Linked DNA regions of Homo sapiens: all the other regions are linked to region 1. The links are contacts of gene promoters, found by promoter capture Hi-C in blood cells and fetal thymus (Javierre and others, 2016). All regions are on one chromosome and are shown on one strand. The core of a region is centred on a gene start or on the middle of the fragment in contact, and the rest is flanking DNA. Distances in the headings are between cores, read along the strand shown. Region 1 holds the start of TMED7 (transmembrane p24 trafficking protein 7). Region 2 has its middle 30 kb from the start of APC. Region 3 overlaps DCP2 (decapping mRNA 2).

Region 1 (3,101 bases), core at 278-2,777:
GGGTGGAGACACAGCCAAACCATACCATAAGGATAACAGTCTTTAGATTTAGGGCCCACCCTAAGTCCCAGGATGACCTCATCTTGAGGGCCTTAACTTAATTACATCTGCAAAAGCCCTATTTCCAAATAAAATCATATTCACAGGGGTGGAGGGGTTGAAACTTGGACATGTATTTTTTAGGGGGACACAATTCAACTCACTGCACACATTTACATAAATAACACATCTTTTAATAAAAATATTTTCGAAATAAAAATTTAGCAAGAAGAGTGACCTTATTTTTGTAAATCTTTCATATCTAGATTTAAGGAAGAAGCTGGGTGCTCATTTCCTTTGATATTCAATCTGTTATGCTGTTTTGGTTGAAATATATAATGAAAATCCAGCTTCATACAGATCATTACATACCCTCTGAAAGGGTTTCAGGAGGCTTCTGGGGACTTCAGAGCAACACTTGAGAACCACTGCTCTAAAGCATATACTCCATAAATATATGTAAAATGGAATTTCCAGGCTGTGGCTACATATTCCAGGCTATATATATATATATATATATACATATATACACACACACACACACACACTGTATATAGGTGTGTGTGTTCTGTGTGTGTATACATATATTCTACTTTATTAGATAATGGCACATTGTTTTCCAACTTGATTAACCAATTTACTTTTTCACTAGCAGTGTATAAGAGGTTTTGTGGCTCTATAAGTCGACCAATATCTGTTATTGTTACACTTAAAATTTTTGCCTATCTTGTGGTATGTAATGTATTGATTGCACTGTGACGTTTAATTTAACAAAAGTTCATCTAGTGCTTGCTATGTACCAACCACTTCTAGGTACTTTTTCCAAATATTGGTACTTTGTAATAATTCTCTATGGTAGGTGCTATTATCTCCATTCTACAGATACACACTGAGGCAGAGAATTTAAGCAAGTGGCCGGACGTCACACAGCCAGTACGTGGCAAAGCAGGGATTAAGCACTCCTGCAGTCTGCTCTTAGAATTCGCGCTCCTTGCCCAGCTGCTTCCCCCAAATATTTATTATTACTTATGAGAAAACTCCGCAAATTGCAAAGCGCTCTACCACCAACGATTAGCACCCTAGGGCAAAATGAGCCCTTTACCACTCCCTAGATGCTCCCCAGCGCTAAGTTCCCAGCGGAGGTTGCAGTGAGCGCAGATCGCGCCACTGCACTCCAGCCTGGGTGACAGGGCGAGACTCTTGTCTCAAAAAAAAAAAAAAAAAAACAACAAAAAAAGCCAGTGATTGGAGCGTAATTACCCTCGCCAACCGCCTGTAACCACGGCGGCCGCCACGCCCCGTTTCCTGGTCTCGCCCCTCTCCGCCCACGACTCTGGCCCCGCCCCTCGTCCCAGGCTGCAACGGAGGCAGAGCCAACGCCTCGCGGGCTTCCACGTACGCACTCCAACGCGTGTTCCCGGAGAAGAACGCATCCGGGTCACGGGAGCCGGTGTCTCAGGCTCCGCCCCTTCACCCCCCGAAAGGCTAATCCCCACTTCCGACCCTCTCAGGCCTTTTCCGCTTCTCTTTTACCTCCCCAGGTCCGCCCGTCTGCGCCCCTCACAGGAAGCCGGAGGGTCGCTCTGATCCCGAATCTCCCACAGGCGTGAACCTGCTCTGCTGTGTATCTTTGCGGGGTGGCCTGCGCTGAGGCCTGCCGCGCGCGGTGAGTCCGCGCAGACCTGACCCTGCGTCTCGCAGCTCGGTTGAGGCCGCCGCCGCCTTCTCGGGATGCCGCGGCCGGGGTCCGCGCAGCGCTGGGCGGCCGTCGCGGGCCGTTGGGGGTGCAGGCTGCTCGCACTGCTGCTACTGGTGCCTGGACCCGGCGGCGCCTCTGAGATCACCTTCGAGCTTCCTGACAACGCCAAGCAGTGCTTCTACGAGGACATCGCTCAGGGCACCAAGTGCACCCTGGAGTTCCAGGTATCAGGGGCCTAGCAGTCCCTGGGCCCCAACTCGCGGCTCCAGGATTGGGGGTGTAACTTGAGGGATGGCACTTTCCTGTCCGTGTTTCCCCGTTCTTAGGCTAATTCAAAAATCGCTTCTAGGTAGCTGATGCCCAGCATTTGACTTTCCTCTAATAAACCTTGGGTGAGAGATGTTAAGACCGGGTGTTAAAATATATGAATTCCAGAAATGCTCCCTTTAGCATTTCTTTCCATCTCATTTTTAAGGCCTATTGAACTTTCTTCCTTAAAAGATTCCCTTAAAGAAAATCATTTATACTCTGTAGTACCCAGTGTCAACCCTCTACTCTCTAATCCACACCTCCAATTTAATTGGATTTGGAGTGCTGCCAATGTCTAACTTCATTGCTTTTCAGTTTTACCAATATTAGGACTGTTGGTTAATACGGTCCTTGTCATTGGAAGAGCTCCATTACAGGTTGAACGGCCATTTGCCAAGGGAGTTGTAGAAAGAATTGCTGTGATAAATGAGAGGCCCCTTCTGATATTTGGGATTATATAAAAAAGAAACTTTAACAGAATGTGGTTTATTCGGTTGGTTAGAACAGTCTTTACTGAGCTTCAATTTTGGTTGGTAGGCGCATTTAACATTTGAGTAGCTATTGAATACTAGGTGCCAGTGGTACAGAAGTGGTCGAAACAGATAGGGTCACTGCCATCATTCATGATTCCCCTCTCACCCTGCTTTTCTTAACTGGTATCTGCTCATTCATCAGAACTGTGCCTTAAGAGCAGTAAGTAGGATCCATGAAGGAAGACTTCCTTTGGAAAATTATTTTAAGCTGAACTTTAAAGGATGAGCTATAAACACCTTGGTAAGGGAGGAGGGGGAATAGCCTGTGGTAGTAGTGAACACTGAGAATTTCAGGGCCATAGAGAGAGGTCCAATATGGTTGGGAATAAGGAGCCAGAGCAAGGGGGTCAGCAGGGGCAGGCCAGATAGTGTCTTGCTGACCATGTTAAGGATTTGTTTTTCCTGAAAGTGTAGGAAGCCATCAGAGGGTTATAAGCAGTTCAGTGATATGACGAGAATATTCTTGGTAGCTGCATTAATAATAACTTGTGCAGGTAGAGAAGTGATGGTAAGATGTTGCA
Region 2 (3,101 bases), core at 160-2,659, 2.9 Mb after region 1:
CAGATGAGGCTTTGCCATGTTGCCTAGGCTGGTCTCGAACTCCTGGACTCATGCGATCCATGCGCTTTGGCCTCTCCCAAAGTGCTGGAATTACAGGCATGAGCCACCACACCCTGCCAAAGTGAGAGGTTTTAAAGAGTTTGTGGTCAGATGTTTTTTGATACAGAGCTACAAATCATTTTGCCAGAAGCAGTGAGCCACTGATTGGGGCTCAGCAACCCCTGCTTTGCTACTGCCCCTTCAAACTGTATGCAGAGAATTCAGAGACAACCAGCTCTAAAAACACACAGGCTCTGGTTCCAGAAAAGTGAAGGCTAGCAACGAATGAACTAGCCCATACAAGAAGCAAACATAAAAATATTCCTCCTTCTTTTAAGCTGAACAATTCTATCTCTAAATTTTAAAAATGCATTAAAAGGTCAAAAGTCCACAGTAAAGGGAAAAATAGATTATGTGTTATGAGACAGAATGAAAAGTAAACAAATCTGCCAGGCTATTTATAACCCACACGTTAAAAATTTTTAACATACAATTCTAATACAGCAGGCATAGTTTGTGCTTAACAACTTTGGAGAACATCTAGCATAACTTCAAGAAAACGATATTGCTCAATTTAATGTTAATAAAAAAGGTCCACCCATTTGCAATTTCAAAGGGCAAGCTATCATTTATATTTTTAATCTCACTTCTACAATTTTGGGGCTCTTGACACGTTATCCAACCCTTCCATCCAGGGAAAGATGGAAAAATTAGCCATGGCAACTTCCTCCACTACCGCTTTGATCCCACATTTTGCACTTAGACTCTGGCAAGGTACTACGTTATTTAGGACAGTTTTTTACACCAGTAATTCTGACTACCCTTGCTCCACTAATAAAGGAGGGAGTACTGAGACTGGCACAAGACTAAATCATATAGAAAATATCAAGTACTCCTAAGGAGGGTTGAACAGTAACAACAATCGAGAATACAAGCAATTTAAGAAGTTTTGAACTTAAAAAGCTTTTCTCCATTTTAGTCCTTTCTAAATAGAAACAAAGGGCTTGTACAACATGGAATTCTAAGACGTCAGTAGGCAATTTAAGCTAACACTGAATAAAAGAATAAATCACTTATCCTTGCTTGTACCATTAAGTGATGTCTTACATGTACTGCATAAGGTCTTCTTTTTTAAAACGAATATAACAGTTTCCAATTCTTTCACTAGATCTAGAAAGCTCACGCCCCCACCTCAACAGTTCAGAGACCAAAGATTTCCTACAGCCGAAAAAAATGAATGATTTAGATGAACAATCATTTGCCAACAGAGGCACCATTCCTCTACTTGGTGGGTCAAGGAGTCAGACTCTGACCTAACCATCCAAGGCTCCTGGGGACTTGATTCTCCCATCAAAGTGAACAAAATTCACCGGCCTTTGGATAACAGCCCTTTCTTTGTAACTCCACATGCCGGGCTATCAGGTATTTTCCCAGGCAGAGAGTTTAAAACTTTTAGAGGAAGCAAGAGGGTCCAAACGAGGAAGATGGGGAAGCGACTAAAATGGGAAGGGCGGACGACCCACCCACCTAACGCGAATGGGGCACCACTTGCAGGGGCGAAGCTCCAGCAGCAGCCAGGAAAGGTGGAGGACGGCGGGCGTCGCGACCCCCATCCACTGCGTGAGAATGGAGGACCTGCAAAGCCAGGGGCCAACTGGAGGCCTGAATGGGGAGTGCGGGGAGGGGAGAGGGTGAGACATGGAGAGAAGAGAGCCACAGAGTCGGGCCGAGCACCGTAGGGTCCCGAGCAGCGGCGGGGCAAAGCCGAGGAAGCTTTGCCGGGAGGAGACGTCAATGCCTGCAGCCTCACTCACCTGCCAGACGCTCGCCCAGTGGCCAGAAGTACGAGCGCCGCCCGGGCTCTTCGTCTCCTGCCGGACGCAGCTCCTGCTGCCGCCGGTGCTCCAGGACCCGAGAACTGAGGGTGGTACAGAAGCGGGCAAAGGGGCGACCGGACCCGAGCCCAGGGAGGCGTACATAGGGGGCGCCGAGGCCCGAGAAGGCAACTGAGTGCTTCACCTTCCTCACCAACAGCCAACAACAGTACCTGGGAACAGCATCGAGCCAACCTCGGTCCGCAGCTCCCGGGCCTGAGCCCGCAGGTCCCCCCCGAGCAGCGGCTAGGCTTCCGGCGGCCACACCCCGCCCCCTTGCTACTTGCCCTCCGCCATCTTGTGGGAGGTGGGAAGACTACAATGCGCATGCGTGAGAGGTGTTGCTGGCTTCCCACAGCCCGGAGACTAGAGCCTGTTATGCGCAGGCGCAATGGGTGCTGCGCTCCGCTTGCCGGGCACTGCTTCGCTGTTCTGTCCCGTGAGCCATTGCTGCCTAGGCAGCCGAGTCTCAGTTGCAGCACTTACTGGCCTTCTCTGAATTGTGCTGCAGCCCAGTTAATAGATCCTTCTGCACACACTAGTCCATTATTCCGCAAACATCTATCGAGTGCTCACTATTTGCTACTCCCCGTACTAGACGCTGATGATAGAAAGATGAATAAAATTCTGTCCCAGCCCCACAAGGGCTCATAAGATAGCGGAGAAACGGAGATGAGCAAGTTATTATTTTGTAGCTGCGACCTCTGCTTCCCTACCACCTCTCACTACCACCCTGTAGTTTTAATTTAAAAACACCTCTTCCGGGAAATCCTTGTTTGTCTCACACAGTTTGATAAGTTCTTTACCTTGGATTACCTCTTCAGTTTCATTTCATTCAACATTAATTGAACAATATCATTTGGGTTTCCGATATATACTAGATACTGTTTCAGGCTCTAGATTTACAGCAATAGGAAATACAATAAACTCACGGAACTTACATTCTAGTGTGAAAGAATAGACAATAAAAGACAGTCAACAAAAGAATGTTTGATGGTGATAAGGGATAGGAAGAGAGCAAACCACACAGAAAGATGATGGACAGTGAGAGGTGGTGATTAGTGATCTTTCTCCAGAGTTGACATTTAATCTGAAGCCTGACTGACCATGGGGGCCCAGGAGCCACTGGAAGATCTGGGGCAAAAGCTTTCAGACAGAGGGAACAACAGAACAGATCCTGAGGTGGTA
Region 3 (3,101 bases), core at 246-2,745, 2.6 Mb after region 1:
CTCAAATATATATATATATATATATATTTTTTTTTTTTTTTTTTAATTAAGAAATAAAAACAACACTGCAACACTGGAGTAGCAAAAGGCATTTTAATCAGGTTTTTAGAGATTGCAATTTGGGAGACACAAGTCTAGCAAGCAGCTAAATCATGTTGCATTCAGGCAAGGTTAGGCAGAGCTTTTAAGGGCTACTGTAAATTTACGTATCTGGAAGGTTTTAGCACAGTCCATGATAAATGATGGCTGGTTGTCAGCTCAGGATGTCTCTAGTCAATGATCAATATAGTTGGGTATGGTTATCTCTCCAGGCGGTTGATCAGGCCCAGTATATACAACTCAAGTCAAATGCAGCTAGTTTTACACTTTGGCCCAGTTCAGCAGGTGAAACTCCATCTAGATGTGTATGTGACCAGGATCCAACTCCTTATGCCCTCCTGGCTCCTTTTTGGATATTCTGACATAATCATCTCCATTGTGAATTTTCTTTTCAGATCCATCAGTTTCATTTTGGATTTTTTTTCCCCACAATTCAGATTCATCAGTTTCATCTTTAAGACTTCTAGTCTTCTGATCTGTTCTAGTCTGGATCAGCTGTCCTCTACACCTGGTACACATCTGTCAACTCTACACTGCCCTTTCACAAGCATCCTATAGTTCCCTGTGCCTTTATCCCACAGAGGTCATGTGTCTTGTCTTTTTGTTTTCATCCTCCTTAATTCACTTCCTTGTTTTCATGAAGTAATCCTCACATATCCTGTGAAGGAAGGATGCAAAGGGGAGGTAAATACTATATTTTAAGATACTACACATCTAAAATGTCTTTATCCTCATACTTGATAATTTGGGTAAAGAATTCTAAGTTGGAAATGATTTTCTTTCAGAATCTTCAAAAGTGTTCTTAATTCCAACTTGCAATTTTGATATTGAGAAGATCGAAGCCATTCAGATTTTTTTTCTTTTTACTTCTAATTTGTGCCAAGGACAAAAGCCATTCAGATTCTTAATGTTTTGTATATGACCTTTTTTTTTCCCCAGTCTGGATGCTTCTAATATCTTCCTTCCATCCCCAGTGTTGTGAAATTTTGCAGTGTCTATTTTTGATCCACTACACTGTCATTCCATAGACTATACATACTTGGAAACTCATATCCTTCAGTGCTGAAAGGTCTCGTAAGTCAATCCTACTGTGAGTCTTTATGTTTCTATACTGCCTTGCCAGGCATGGTAGTACATGCCTGAAATTCCAGCTACTAAAGCCAAGGAGTTCAAATTCAGCCTGGTCAACAATGTGAGACCCCGTCTCTATTTTTTTAAAAAAATACCCCCCATATCAATTACATTAATTTTGCTTTTCATTTTTCCCAGTTCTCCTCAGCCCGCTCTGTTGAAATGCTGAAATTTTAACTGTCAGAGGCAACCGTAATATTGCCTTAGGGACTTGTGGGGAAGGGGAGGGGAATTATTCAGCGTAGTGTTTTAACTTTCAGAACCAAGTAGTCTATTTTCTCTATGTAAGAAATGTGTTTGTCTTACTTGAAGAGAAACCCAGACTTCATCAGTTTTTGATAACATCTTGGTTTCTGAAGGAACTTCAATCTGTAATTGGCATTCAGAATGCCCTTGGCATGGCAGTCTGTGTGATGGCATTTAAGACCTGTGAAATCCTTGAGCCCAACTTGATTAATCAACACTGATAACCACCACCTTTATCCTTTAAAGTCTGCTTTATCTGTATTTTAAAAAATGAAAAACCCTCAAGTGTAAGAGCCAGCTCCCTATCTACTCACATAAAGGAGAAGCGTATTAATGAATAAACCTCCCAAATGTCTCATCATTAATATAAAAAGGCATCCAAAAATCACCTACCATCTAAGGAAAATGTGAAGCATGACAAGAAAGTTTTTTAACTGACGCTGAAGAAAACATAATTGAGGAACCAGAAGAAAACAGGAGTGAGGGTTGAAAGATGGAATTATTATCCTAAAAGAAATTTAAAAGAGTATTCCTTTTTCAGAGCAACTGTATTTTTCTTTAAATGTACAGTAACTAAGTAAGAGCCCTCGGGGGGAAAAAAAACTATTATTACTATAACCAACGGAAGCAGTGGAAGGTAGTATTAAGGATATCACCTAGACACTGGTACTCAAAATGTGGACGCTAGACCATGTGGGAACTAAGTGTGAAAACAGAAACAGGTATTTTACACATTAAAGGACTCAGTTTACTTCCTAATGAACCCCCTCAAAGAAATTAACTTAAAATGCGCACAAGCAAAACAAGAATGAAAACCAAGAAAGGATGAAACATGATATTCAAGAAAGAGTAAGTACCATCTCAGAGAGTTGTGAAAGTGAATTCTAGTATTCTAGTTGCTAGGCAAGTCTGAGGAGCAACGAGTCCAGACTGGATTAGGAGGATGGAGGTCCCCAAGAGTGCAGTCTAAAGGGAAAAAAGGATTCTGTCGAAAGTATGATTGAGGATAAGATAAGGAAGCGGATGAGAAGGGTTGAAAAAAGCAGCTAGAAACTTTGGACATATTAGAGAGGAGTACATGTACAACAGAATCATAGTCCAAATGTGAAGCAAAAACACCAAAGTTAGAACAGAAAGCCAACTGTCCCCTCCCCTCAAAAAAATGGATTTCAAGAATAGCCAGAAGGGGCCTGGCATGGTGGCTCCCGCCTGTAATCCCAGCACTTTGGGAGGCCATGGCAGGCGGATCACCTGAGGTCAGGAGTTCAAGACCAGCCTGGCTAACACATGGTGAAACCCCGTCTCCACTAAAAATATAAAAAATGGTGTGGTGGAGGGTGCCTGTAATCCCAGCTACTCGGGAGGATGAGGCAGGAGAATCGCTTGAACCCAGGAGACACGGGTTGCAGTGAGCTGAGACCACATCATTGCCTCCAGCCTGGGCAAACGAGCAAGACTCCGTCTCAAAAACAAACAAACAAAAAGGCTAGAAGGAATCAAGCAATAGTAACAAAAGCATATATTTCTTTCCCCAAAGAAAAAACTAAATGGTACCATCATTTTGACCAATTTGTAGGATATAAGAACGGAGAATTCATTCAGATATTCTGCAAGACACTTACAAA

Evidence for each region. The method cuts DNA at HindIII sites, captures the fragments that hold promoters and counts their contacts. A CHiCAGO score of 5 or more calls a contact.
Region 2: a contact is called between a fragment that was not itself captured here and the fragment with the promoter of TMED7 in region 1, in 3 of 17 cell types (non-activated CD4 T cells, naive CD4 T cells and total CD4 T cells). The highest score is 6.3, in non-activated CD4 T cells.
Region 3: a contact is called between a fragment that was not itself captured here and the fragment with the promoter of TMED7 in region 1, in 2 of 17 cell types (naive CD4 T cells and total CD4 T cells). The highest score is 8.0, in naive CD4 T cells.

The regions. Positions count from the first base shown.
Region 1 is chr5:115,624,462-115,627,562 of GRCh38, reverse strand. TMED7 (transmembrane p24 trafficking protein 7) reads left to right here and starts at 1,527. Exons shown (of 3, transcript NM_181836.6): 1 at 1,527-1,962. The coding sequence starts at 1,771. It overlaps TMED7-TICAM2 (TMED7-TICAM2 readthrough), which reads left to right and starts at 1,527. Exons shown (of 4, transcript NM_001164469.4): 1 at 1,527-1,962. The coding sequence starts at 1,771. RefSeq lists an enhancer at 1,462-1,631 and a silencer at 1,802-1,871. The HindIII fragment of the contact is 9,571 bases long and covers 1-3,101 here.
Region 2 is chr5:112,706,635-112,709,735 of GRCh38, reverse strand. It overlaps a transcript of APC not described here. Among named protein-coding and RNA genes, the nearest start is that of APC, 30 kb to the left of the region's middle. RefSeq lists an enhancer at 2,199-2,258. The HindIII fragment of the contact is 810 bases long and covers 1,005-1,814 here.
Region 3 is chr5:112,981,630-112,984,730 of GRCh38, reverse strand. All of the region lies in intron 1 of DCP2 (decapping mRNA 2), which reads right to left. Among named protein-coding and RNA genes, the nearest start is that of DCP2, 6.4 kb to the right of the region's middle. RefSeq lists an enhancer at 2,754-3,101. The HindIII fragment of the contact is 7,597 bases long and covers 1-3,101 here.